Regions from separate parts of the Homo sapiens genome. Here region 2 is linked to region 1. The links are contacts of gene promoters, found by promoter capture Hi-C in human tissues and cell types (Jung and others, 2019). All regions are on one chromosome and are shown on one strand. Each heading gives the region's core, a stretch centred on a gene start or on the middle of the fragment in contact. The rest is flanking DNA. Distances are from core to core; before and after follow the strand shown. Region 1 holds the start of AFF3 (ALF transcription elongation factor 3). Region 2 overlaps AFF3 (ALF transcription elongation factor 3).

What was found. Contacts are between HindIII fragments. The study calls those that stand out against the background at their distance.
Region 2: a contact is called between a fragment that was not itself captured here and the fragment with the promoter of AFF3 in region 1, in 3 of the 25 tissues and cell types used here (aorta, dorsolateral prefrontal cortex and mesenchymal stem cells).

Annotation. Positions count from the first base shown.
Region 1 is chr2:100,139,682-100,145,989 of GRCh38, forward strand. It overlaps AFF3 (ALF transcription elongation factor 3), which reads right to left and starts at 2,909. Exons shown (of 25, transcript NM_001386135.1): 1 at 2,803-2,909. The HindIII fragment of the contact is 13,656 bases long and covers 1-6,308 here.
Region 2 is chr2:99,621,284-99,627,591 of GRCh38, forward strand. The region is part of intron 13 of AFF3 (ALF transcription elongation factor 3); the gene reads right to left. Among named protein-coding and RNA genes, the nearest start is that of REV1, 130 kb to the left of the region's middle. The HindIII fragment of the contact is 4,551 bases long and covers 1,327-5,877 here.

The sequences.
Region 1 (6,308 bases), core at 1,659-4,158:
TTTTCTGGATGAAGAATAATGTTTTTAGTTTTTGTCAAAGCTATGTTTTAAAACATTGAGAATCAACTCACTAATAACCAAAAAAAAGGCAAATGAAAGCAGAAATGAGATATGACTTGTTTGTCAGACTTGGAAATACTAAAAGAACAGATAGGATGATTGCACTAAAGGATTTCTAGAACAGTCATTGCAATTTAACTTGTGATATTCAAAAACCGGAAATCAACTAAATTTTCATATATGGGAATGGTTGCACAAATTATGGAACATCAGCTCCAGAGGGTGCAAATGGGTCATTTGAAAGAACAAGTTAAATCATACCTAATGACATGTCATTAAGAACCAACATTATTTATACTTTTCATTTCCATTTAACTTGCCTTTACCGAAGGTGGATTTCAACACGTTTTCCTTACATGACTCGGAAATAATATAACAGCATTTTACGTATGTAGACTCATTGAGCCCTCATAAAATCCTGTGAACTCTGTAGGACAGGACATTACACCCACTTCACAGAAAAAGATGTGGAAGTGCAGAAGATAAAAGTTATTTATGGAAGGGTCCATAGCTGTCAACCTTGATAGGCAAGACATCAGGTCCTTCCTCTGAGTAGTGGTGTAGAAAAAATGGTTGGAATTTAGAAACCAGCATCCAGCTCCTCACCATGCCTTCAGCTTTCTCTGTGACTTTGAACTTGTTTCTTAAACTCTCTGAAACTGGACGTCCTCACTGGTCACGTTTTGTTACTACTTGCTTTGTATTCTGGGTGTGATGGGTGGGGGATTGGGACACAGAATCTGGAGATGGTCAGATCCCAACGCTGCTATTTCCCTGCTCTGCACTCTTAGGCTACCTACCAATCTCTCCTCTAAAATAAGCATAATTGCAATGGCTCAGATACAATAACAAAATGTGTGTAAAATGCCGAGCACCACGTCTCACACCTGAGAGGCACTGAATGCATGTTATATACTATCATTTGGATGTCACCGTTCCATGTGCCTATTTCCTGGTTTGCTGTACAAGATGTGTATGAGTACATGTCATCAAGCCCACAGAGCTCCAGAACATGTTCCTCTCACAAGCAGGCCTCATAGGGAGGGGTGTTCTGTGCTGTTCCTCTTTCCTGCTCACTACTTGTCTGTAGCTACAGTGTAAGGACTGTAATGTCACTGCTCTGGCCTTAAGTGTCACCCCCCAAACCCATTTTACACACACCACCTCCCACCTTTCACCTTTCCCAAACTCTTACCATGTCCCTTCAAGTTTGATGGCTTAATTGTACAAAAGGTAGTGATGATGATGATGATGATGATGACAATGATAACAGCTGCTAATACTTACTGAGCCCTTTCAATGTTCCAGGCACTTGTCTAAGCACTTTACATGTATTAGCTTATTTAATTCTTAAGAGGAAGGGATTACTATCTACTATTGTACTTGTGTTACAGATGTGGGAACTCCGATGCAGAGATGTATAGTGACTTGCCTAAAACCATCATGTTAGAGTGGGAATTTAAACCTTGAAATCTGGAAAATAAGCAATGTATATATTTTTCTATTTTCTAAATGCAAATCAAATATACATATGCATAACACCACTAAACACTAAGTGCAGTTACGCCTAGAACAAGGGAATAGCAGTTGACAGAAACACAACCAAAACTAAGAATATTAAATGTCTGTATTACTTTCACTGTAATCACTTCACTTCAACAGTGAGATGGGATAGCCCTAGGTAAAGGAAGGTGCTCTTGTAGTTAGAACATTCTTAAATTTTGCACCAAGGAACACATGCTTTTAATAATGGCAGAGACAACATTTTTTGATGGATTATTTAGTTTGTACGATCAACATTCAAAGAATGAGTTTACCACCACTTTGTTATTGTAAACACTTGACCTTTAGCTACCTGAATGATCCCCTCTTTGAATAAAAGGAATTATGAAACACATGTGTAGACATATTTCATTTTTATATATGTGAGACTCGAATAGCAAGGAAATCACATATTAGGAAAAAAACCCCTTTGTCTTGCTATTAGTTCTCTTTGGTTTCAAAAATCTGGTCACTGTGTATATTGCATTATATCATATGTGTGTGTACATATATATACACACATAAACACACATACACACAATGTCATGTGTATAAATACATGATGTGTTTATGCACATACACAGACACACACACACAAATACACACATATACAATGTTCCATCCAAGAAATACAAATATAGTGCTGTTAGCCCCTAACAGTGAGGAGGTCATTATTCCAAGTCATTTCTGCAGAAGTGACGGTGGCCTTAGGTGGAACTGCCCATGATCTCTCCTTGCAAGCTCACTCACTGGGGCCATTGACTGGGATCCAGTCTGTGGCCATGTCATGGTTTCTATTTTTGAGGTTATAGCTAATGAGCAACATGAGGTTAAGACACACTTTTCATAAGGCCCCAGCCAGCATCATAAATATGTGTGTGAGCATGTTCACACTCAGGTTATGTCTTCTTTATGTGCACCCTCTACCACACACACACACACACATGCACACGCACACACACTGACGGCTTCAGTGACCAACTTTGGTCACATCCCATCTCTTCCTTCTCAATCCCTCTGGCTGTTCACCAGGGCCTGGACCATCTCGGTGAGGCTGACCAAGAATGCTCCCCCTGCCCTGACCAGCGGAGCATGGGCACAGCTACTTAGAGCGCCACCCTTCAGGACACAAAGTCGGGGCTACCTCTCTTCCAGGCAAGGCATCCTAGAGGGCCCGCACACCCTCCAGTTTGATCTTACCTCTCAGCTCCCGTTCCTTTTCTTTCTCTCCCCAGTAAGTCGTTGAACGTCTTTCTTCTGAGGCTGAGCGTGGAGCTCTCTTCTCGCTGGCGAGCTTTCTGAATGGCACTTTCTGTACAAACAGGAAGAGCATGTGTGGTCACAACCCAAGTGTGCAGGTGTTGATAGAGGATGTGAAAGTGTGGAGGCGAGTGACTAAACCAGATACCCAACCGGCCAACTCTCACTTGTGGCAGGGCCTGGTCTACCAGAAGGCTGGAAGCAGGAACCTGGACTCTACTCTGGGGAGACCAACTGACAAAAGCAGAGGATGGTGGCCCTGGAGGCCAAGGGAGAAGGTCTCTTTGACTCCTGTGCTTTCTAACCCTATGCAGACCCATAAAAGAATCCCAGGAACATTTTGGAATCTCTTAGATATATGATTATCAAGAATGTTGATTTCAATGGGCTGCTTAACTTGTCCAAAGCTCTGCTGGTTTCCCAGGCTGTCTGGGCCTCCAAGAGATCAGGACCAAAGGCTCATCCTGCATTGGAACTGTGACAAGTCTTCCAGACCTTTCTAGAACAAAGCTACACCAGGAAAGAAGAGTCTTAGGCAAGGAATCAGATGTCCTAAGGCTGCTCTACATGACCTACATGATGGGTGTTACCTCCTCATCTCCCATTCAGTCAACCCACGGGCACTGGACTTCCTGCCCGACACCCTTCCCTCTCCCCATTCATGCCTGGAATTATTTTCACTAATGACACCAGGGATTCACTAATGGATGCTTTTTCAGTTCCTGTCCTATTTGTCTCCACTGGCAGTGTTTGACTTCCCTGTAGTGTTGACCATTTCTTTCCTCCCAGAACTTCTGCCTGGGCCGCCATGACTCCATACTCTCCTGGTTTTTGTCAGGCGGTCTCTCACACTGGCAGGCTTCCATTCTTTGGTCTTAATTTTCGCCCTCCTGCAAGCTCCACTCTCCGCCTCATGGTTCCTGTTCTCCATGGGTGGCCTCTTCCCAGCTCCAGATGGAACTTGCCAAGCCCACATCCATAGCATCACACATTTCTGCTGTTCTCCTGGAACATCCCCCAGCACCTCCCGTCAGACTCGCCACAATGAAACCCTGCTCTGTCCTCTACCCCACTCATTACTTACCATGTGGCCTGTGAATTCCCTCCTGCCTTGTCCCAGCTTGCTCCTCAGGTCTCTACCCCCTTCTGAGTTTACCACCTTCTGATCTCTCACTTTGCCTCTGCTAATCTGGCTTCTTCAGGTTTGACCCTCCATTATCCTCATCCAAACAGGCCCGTCCTTATCCTGAGAATGGATACCTAGAAACTTCCCCACCCAGTCCTATCCCAAGCCCTGGGAAATTATCCCAGTATTGTCTGCCTCATGTCCCTGGCAAGGAGAAAACGTTTCTTTATCTTATACCCAAACCAGAAATGGGGAGGCTTCCCACGTTCTTCTCTTTGCTGAATACTCTTCAACCTTCCATCACCAAGCCCTGCCCATTCTACCTCTTCAGTCACTCCTCAGATCCTTCTTCCCGTCCGCATCTCCACAGCCACACCCTCCCTCCATTGCCTCTCATCACTGCCCTAATCCCCAAGGGGTACGTGCACCCAGGGCACACCAGACCGTTCACTGAAGGATGAGAAGAAAGGAATTGAATGTCTATCTACCCACACTTGTCTGGTTTTTGTATTTAATTAAGACTCACATACCATAAAATGAGCCGTTTTAAGATGGGGAATCCTGTGGCATTGAGTACACTCACAATGCTGTGCAGCCACCACCTCCATCGAGTTCCCAGACTTACATCTATTTTTACGTCATGTTTTTAGTGTTTACATTTTGTGTATGTTTCAAGGCATGCAATGTGTGAATACAGTTGTATTGTATATCATTTGTGAATAATCATACATCTGCTCAGAATAGGCGGCAAAGACTTTTTTGCTGAAGAAGATACAAAATTAGAAAAGTGGGGACACGTGACCTCCTAACTCATCTCTCACATGTCAGGCTCTAGAGTGTTTTCCAAACTGCCTCCAAATTTTCTCTGCAAAAGACTACAAAAATGATGACAGTACACTCCCCTCACCCCACGACCAGTCCTTAAACGCTTCAATGGCTCCCTGTCACCCACAGGAAAATCCCAAGGCTCCATCGCTGGGCAGGCGAGATGTTGGATTCAGTGGCCTCTGCCCACTCCCCAATACCATCTCTTGCCATCCTTGATACCACTTCCTTCCTCACCACCCAACAATCCCACCACCACTCATGGTTTCTTGAACTTTCAGGCTGCTTTATGTCACAGCTTTGCACATGCTATTTCCTCTTTCAGGGTGCCTTCACTTCCATTGGCTATCTGGCAGATCCCCATGGATATTAAAAACCCTTCCATCCTGCTCATCTCAAAGCAGAATTCCTCACCTGTGCGGGCTGAAGCCATTGCCTTCATGTTAGATGATACTATGGGCAATTTGATGGTCAGGAGGGTGGGCTCTGCCTCCAGAAAGACCTGGGTTTGGGTTCAGCCTCTATCATTTACTAGCAAGGGTAACTTGGGGATGTTACGTTCAGCTTCCTCGTCTATACGGTACCCACTCATAGAGTGACTGTAGAAATTAAACAACATAGTGTGTGTGCAGGATGTCATAAGTATTCAGTAAGTGGTGGAGATTATCATGATGGTTATTCTGTTTGTTTACCTCACTATTCTGTAAACTGCTTGTAAAATTTATAAATTTCATACCAAGGAGAGCTACTACTTCTAAGGCAGAATGTCTTCATTTTAATTAAAAAGTTGGCCAGGATTGGTGGCTCATGCCTGTAAGCCCAGTGCTTTGGGAGGCTGAGGCAGGAGGATTGCTCGAGGCCAGGAGTTCGAGACCAGTCTAGGCAACGTAGTGAGACCTTGTCTGCACAAAAAAATTAAAAATTTTTAAAAAATAGCTAGGTGGTTAGACGTGGTGGCTCATGCCTGTAATCTCAGCACTTTGGGAGGCTGATGTGGGCGGATTGCTTGAGGTCAGGAGTTCGAGATCAGCCTGGCCAACATGGTGAACCTGACCAACATGGTGAAACCCTGACTCTCCTAAAAATATAAAAATTAACCGGGCATGGTGGCGCACACCTGTAATCCCAGCTACTCGGGAAGCTGAGGCAGGAGAACCGCTGGAGCCTGGGAGGCGGAGGTTGCACCGAGCCAAGATCGCGCGGCTGCACTCCTGCCAGGGTGACAGAGTGAGACTCTGTCTCAAAAAAAAAAAAAAAAAGAAAAGCCAGGCGTGGTGGCATGCACCTGTAGACCCAGCTACTCTGGAGGCTGAGGTGGAAGGATGGCTGGAGCCCAGAAGTTTGAGACCAACCTAGGCAACATAGTGAGACCCTGTTGCTACAAAAAATAAAAAATCAGCTGGGTATGGTTGCACACACCCATAGTACCCGCTACTCAGGAGGCTGAGGTGGGAGGATCATCACTTGAGCTGGGGAGGTTGATGCTGCAGAGAGC
Region 2 (6,308 bases), core at 2,352-4,851, 520 kb before region 1:
ATTCGCACACAGCATTGCTGTGTAACAGCTGAGCAAGTGACAGATTCCTGGCTTTGCTACCTCTAGGAGTCTAGATAATTCTCATCATAACTAAGTCTGCTATGCTGTGCTGTGGGTAGAGATTTCTTAACTTGCTGTATATAAAGTGGCTTCAAGGGATCTGCCTGCGACCTCGTCCACCCAGAGCATTTTGGATTTCAGGTTTAGGTGGGTGAGGATTTTTCTGCCATGAAGAATGGTCGGTGCTCCTTGCCTGTCACTGTTGCTCTGCAACCATATGTGCCTGGTACTGTTCTGAGTGTGGTGGGGACAGAAGGCACAAGGTTAATCATGTCCTTATAGTTGGAGGACCTAGAATAATGTTTAAGAGAAAACAGTGTATGTCAAGCGCTCAATGCGGCCATAAAATTCCTAGTCCTAATTCTTAGTTCTAAGACTTGAGAGGCCAGGGGGAAGAACGAGGAGTAGAGTTTCCAGGCAGGAATTCTTGGAGGAAGTGGGGCCTGAAACACTGAGCAGGATTTGCTAGGAAAAGAGAGAAGGGGGCAAGCTCCAGGCAAAGCGGGTGGAATAACAGGAGGCTGGGATTTGCAGGGCGAGTTGTGTGGGGGAAGCTGAAATAGACGCAGGCCACGGGGAGGAACCATTTATCCTTCCTTCAATTTTATAGCATCCAGCACCAGGCAGCCCTTCTATTTAGATATGTGGGTGATAAGGAAGAGAGCTGAAAAAACAGACTGGGATTGCCTGGTTTCCTATAGGGTGTGAAGCTGAAATTCTATGAGCAAATCTATGTAATTTAAATAAGACTACACCAACTAGGACGTGCTGAGAACAATACAGGACCAGGGGTCTCCAGCCCCACTTTGGTACAGTCACTGCTGGAGTGGAGGGAAAATGAGTCGAGGGTGGGTGCGTTCTCCTCCAACCATGGCAACTCATTCTGAATGCACTGCAGAGGCTGTGCCCCCAGAGGACCCTCAGGGAGGTGGTCCTGATCGAAGATGGCTCCCACGTGCAGACGCTGAGAATGAGCCCAACCCATGAGAGGCAAATTACCACGAACACATTTTATTCAAGGGAAGGAATGTCAAAGCCAGGCCTTTGTTTCTTTAAGGTTTGCTGAAAATAGAAAGGTTGTTTTATGGGCAGGCTGAGCAAAGAGAGAGAAGGCAGAGAGGGAGTGGTAAGAAAAAGAAGGGGGAATGAAATAAACTAGAATGTGGTCAATATAATTTTATTTGCTTTATTATTCCTGAGTATGGTGCCAATAAGTCTGAGTTCTGCGACTCCCAGCTCCACCATCACAGAGAATGTGAGCAATCTCGCTTCCAGAAATGAGCTGCCCACTAAAAGGAAAAGAATCACCACATCACAGAACAGGCCAATAAAACTCTCAGCTCAGCCCAGCCTGATTGGATGGAGTCCTCCCAGCAGGTTCTGAATGACCTGTGCATCAGTGCTGGAGGACAAGGCAGGCCTGCCGGGCTGCAGCCCATTCTTTCATTGAACTCAGACCATGGGGTCAGTGGATGCAGAGTCAGGCCCTGGCTGGGCATGGGCACAGGCAGGACGACTCAGACATGTACTGGAGACAGTCCTTGCCGACAGGGAGCTCCCGGTGGAAGCTCTGGTTCATGTCTTTGATCAGAATGACTCTGCTTCAAACAAAGGTAGCCTTGCTTTTTTCCACTGCAGAAAAGATGAGTGAGAGAGTTCCCAGGAGACTTTTGGTGGTCGAAGGGAGAGAGGACAGGAGGAAGGTATTTAGTCAGACTTCAGAGCACACCTGGCAGCACGTGCCTCCGTTAACTCCAAGGAGCAAAATGCATTTGGGACCTCCAATTTTTTTTGTTGACCTCTGGTTCTTTTTTTTTTTTTTTTTTTAACTTATAAGATAGGCCTTTCCTGATGCCAAATAAGGGCAATGATCAGCTTCCCCATTCCTGGAGCCAGGACCTGCCACATCATTTGCAGTGCAAAATGCAAATGAGAGCCCCTTGTTCAAAGAGCAAGATAAAAGTGCCATCCTAGGCGCTCAAAATACAAAGGTTCCTCCTTTCTTCTATGGTCTGTCAATTGGTCAAGGCATTTTAATTTGCTACTTAATGTCATGCTTGCTGGGCACTGGAATACTCATGCGGTGAGTGTAGGATCCCACGGGTATCTGGAGGCTCGCCCTGCAATTTAGCATGTGCAAGGAGCTCCCCACCTCTGCCAGCCCAGGATGGGCGTGTGATGCCCTGGCTGGGGTGAGTGAGGTTGAGCCAGGTATCTCTGTGTCTCATGGGCCCAACCGACACGGGAGAGAAGACAATCCCCATGGGGACTGCAACCTTTGAACTGGGACACATGAGGCCTCTGGGTTAGGGTCGGGGAGAGGCTCGTCCCCCTGCCCAGCCACCCACTGCATGTGCCCTTGTGCTGTCAGCTTGGGGCAAAACGCGGGTGCCATGTCTGGGCCTGTGAGCCCTGTCCTGACCTGGCATGCACCCATGCCCTCCTGGGGTGCTGGGTAGCAGCAGTTACTGTGTAGGGTGGAACAGGCAAGGCCAGGTGGGGCCAGGGCAGCAGGCTGGAGCTGGCAGCTGAGAGGGACCCATGGGAGCCAAGGCTCTGAGCCCAGGCAGATGCTCCATCATCCCATTGGACTTCACTTAAAAAACACGAATTCAAAGATAAAGTTATTAAGGATTTCAATATGCCAACCACAGAGCATTAAACTAAGTAAGAGGCCATCGGCGTACAGGGCCCTGGGAGGCTGCACAGTTCACTGCTCCTGCCTGGAGCCACCGGGTTGCTTCTACCTTTGTCTTCCTCTAAAAGAAAATGCCCAAGCCACAGCTACCTCCAAGGTTCTGGGGATTGTTGCCTTCTGAAGGCATCCAGTTCCTGCCAATCATCTACCCAGCTACCTATCTGCTTGAATTCCCCTAGGTGCTTGCTAGTAGAAAGGTGGAAGAAAATTTCCCAGACTATCTCCAGGTAACCAAGGAGGTGACAGTTTGGGAAGCTTACAGAAAGCTCCATGGAGACAGAATTTTAAATAAGCTGGAGTCCCATGTAATTAAAATAATTTTGAATTAAAACTACCACTTCAGTAATTGCTTTTATATTATAATATTTACTACCATTGCCATTGTGTAACTTACCTCATTAGCTACTGTTGGAGAAAAGTCAGTCAATGAATAATTAATAGGATGTGATAACCAAGGGAGTAATGGTGTTTAAAAACAGAGCTTGAAAGAAAGTGTCACCCACACGCAGCCCCATTAATAAGAGCCTCGCAGTCCAATGCCACTTGCAAGGAGGTGAGGCCCTGGCCCGTTGCCTCCTGTTATTAGAGGTCAATAGAAAAATCTCCTCAGCCTCATCACAGACGTGCACATAGGTCAGGAATTCTCCTTAATGGCAGCAAGAAAAAGCTTCCACTTTATCAAAGCAGACAGTCCTTGGCACAAGTAACTCAGCAAAAATACAAATTAGAAATAGCACCCAAAGGCCAGCCAGGTGCTGAGGCTGCCAGCCATGCTTCAGAGAAAGTGGCAGTCTCGTGTCTGCCCTCCGGAGACGAAGGCGGGAGGGCAGCAAGTGGGAGCTCCGCCAGATGCCTCCGACCTGCATACGGCTCCACCCTACCGATTTCCAAACAGGCCCAGTGCTTGCAGCAAGCACCACACACACTTGACACACACAAGATACAGTCTCTCGTGGAAAATCTGGAGGAACGGTTGTGCACAGCTCCTGCTGGAAGTGAGATGCTTATTCTACTGCTTGGAAAGAGAGGAGATTCATTTTCAAGGAAGCTTTCTTGAAGGGCGAGATAGAATTTTGACTTAAGTTGCATCCACTGTTTGTATATAGATGGTCTTTCAAGATCCTGACATTTTCTTATGCAATTTCCAAGAAAGATCAAATACTTTTAGAGAATACTTTTTTCTTAACGGTCTTTCAATCAAAATATCGTTTGCGTAGGGTTGCCAGGCAAAATACAGGGCACCCCGTGAAATTTGAATTTCAGATAAACAATGAAAAATATGCAATATTAGGGACACATTTAGACTACAGAATTATTCATTGTTCCTGGATTTTTACTTGCTGAATCTGGCAACCTTAAGTTTGCAATCTTTCTTATCCATCCAACATAAAGATGTGTGGTGCTGAGCATGTCTGGTGCTGAGCACAGAGAGGGCCTTTCTTGGAGGGGTTGTGTATGGATTACTTAAGGAAGATAAATGACACCTGGAAACAGCATCAACATTAAACCATGTGCAGGAGATTTCCTGCTTGAAATTTTGCAAAGTGTCTTCTGGGTTGTATGACAGGATACTAGACGAAATGACAAGCGAGAGGATTAATTATAATTAATCACAGAAGGAAAGTTTGAGGGCCTGGGAATTCATATTTCAGGTTGCCAAAGCTATTTAAAAAGCAATGTAATACAACAGTTGTAATGGAAGAACAGTCAGAAGATAAAAGTAAAGCACTGATAAAATATCATATGAGTCTATTTCAAAGTTGCAAAATTCAAGGTTAAAATATTTCTCTTTAGAGCTTTTGAATTAGTTGAAGGGGATGAAAGGCAAGCTTTATGTAACCACTTTTCCAGTGAAATAAAACCTGTTTACATCTTGGTGACTGAAACACCTTCCAGCTAATTTAGAATTCTCAAGTGGCCACATGAAAAGATTAGAATTTCTATAAAAAGAAATGTCCCAGTTGCGTTCCAGTTCAGGTATAGAGAACGCAGTTACTGAAGGGTCTTCAGTTCATCTGAGCTAGCTGAGTGCCACCCATCGGAAGCTGCTGCGTTTGGACACTAGAACATTAGAAGATGTTATTTTATTCAACAGAACCAGCTTGGTAGAAATGTTGGAATTTAATAAAGACAAGCTCTCTTTGTGGTGTTTTACTGAAAGAACACAGTATCTGCAAACCTAGAGTCCATTTCCCAAGCTCACGTTTGTTGTTGCCAGTTTTATTTTTACACTACAGAAAAGGTAGAAAATTCCTTTGGAAAGTCTGCCTCCCTCCCTTCCTTCCTTCCTTCCCTCCTCTCTCTTTCCTTCCTTCCTTCCTCTTTCCTCCCTTCCTTCCTCCCTCCCTTCTTCCTCCCTTCCCTTCCCTCCCCTCCCTTTCTCTCTCCTCCCTCCCTCTCCTTCCCTTCCCCTTCCTTCCTTCCTCCCTCCCTCCCTCTCCTTCTCTTCCCCTTCCTTCCCTTCCCTTTCCCCTTCCTCTTCCTTCCTTCCTCCCTCCCTTCTCCCTTCTCCCTCCCCTCCCCTCCCCTCTCCTTTCCTTTCTTTCACCTTTAAGGTCAGGGGTACATGTGCAGGTTTGTTATACAGGTAAACTTATGTCACCGGGTTTGATGTGCAGATTATTTTGTCACCCAGGTGTTAAGCCTGTTATCCATTAGTTATTGTTTCTGACTATCTCCCTCCTCCCAGCCTCCATCAACTGACAGGCCCCAGTGTCTGTTGTTCTCCTCTATGTGTCCATGTGTTTTCATCGTTTAGCTTTCACTTGTAAGTGAGAACATACTGTAGTTAGTTTCCTTTCCTGTGTTCGTTTGCTAAGGATAATGGATTCCTGCTACATCCATGTTCCTGCAAGGAACATGATTTGTTCTTTTTTATGGCCGCATAGTAGCATAGTATTCCATGGTGTGTATGTACCATATTTTCTTTATCCAGTCCACCACTGCTGGGCATCTGGGTTGATTCCATGTCTCTGCTATTGTGAATAGTGCTGCAATGAATATATGCATACATGTGTCTTATAATATGATTTATATTCCTTTGGGTATATATCCAGTAATGGAATTGCTGGGTTGAACAGTTCTGTTTTTAGGTCTTCGAGGAATCACCAGTGTTTTCCACAATGGCTGAAATAAAATTTACATTCCCACCAACAGTGTATAACGTTCCTTTTTCTCCACAACCTCGCTAACATCTGTTTTTTTTTGACTTTTAAATAATAGCCATTCTGATTGGTGTGAGATGGTATCTCAGTGTCGTTTTGATTTGCATTTCTCTAATGATCAGTGATGTTGAGCTTTTTTTCATATGCTTGTTGGCCGCATGTATGTCTTCTTTTGTAAAGTGTCTGACCATGTCCTTTGCCTACTTTTTAATAGGGTTGTTTTTTTCTTGTAAATTTGTTTAAGTTCCTTAGAAATGCTGGATATTAGAGCTTTGTCAGATGCATAGTTTGCAAAAATGTTCTCCCATTATGAAGGTTGTCTGTTTACTCTGTTGATGGTTTCTTTTGCTGTGCAGAAGCTCTTTAGTTTAATTGGATCCCATGTG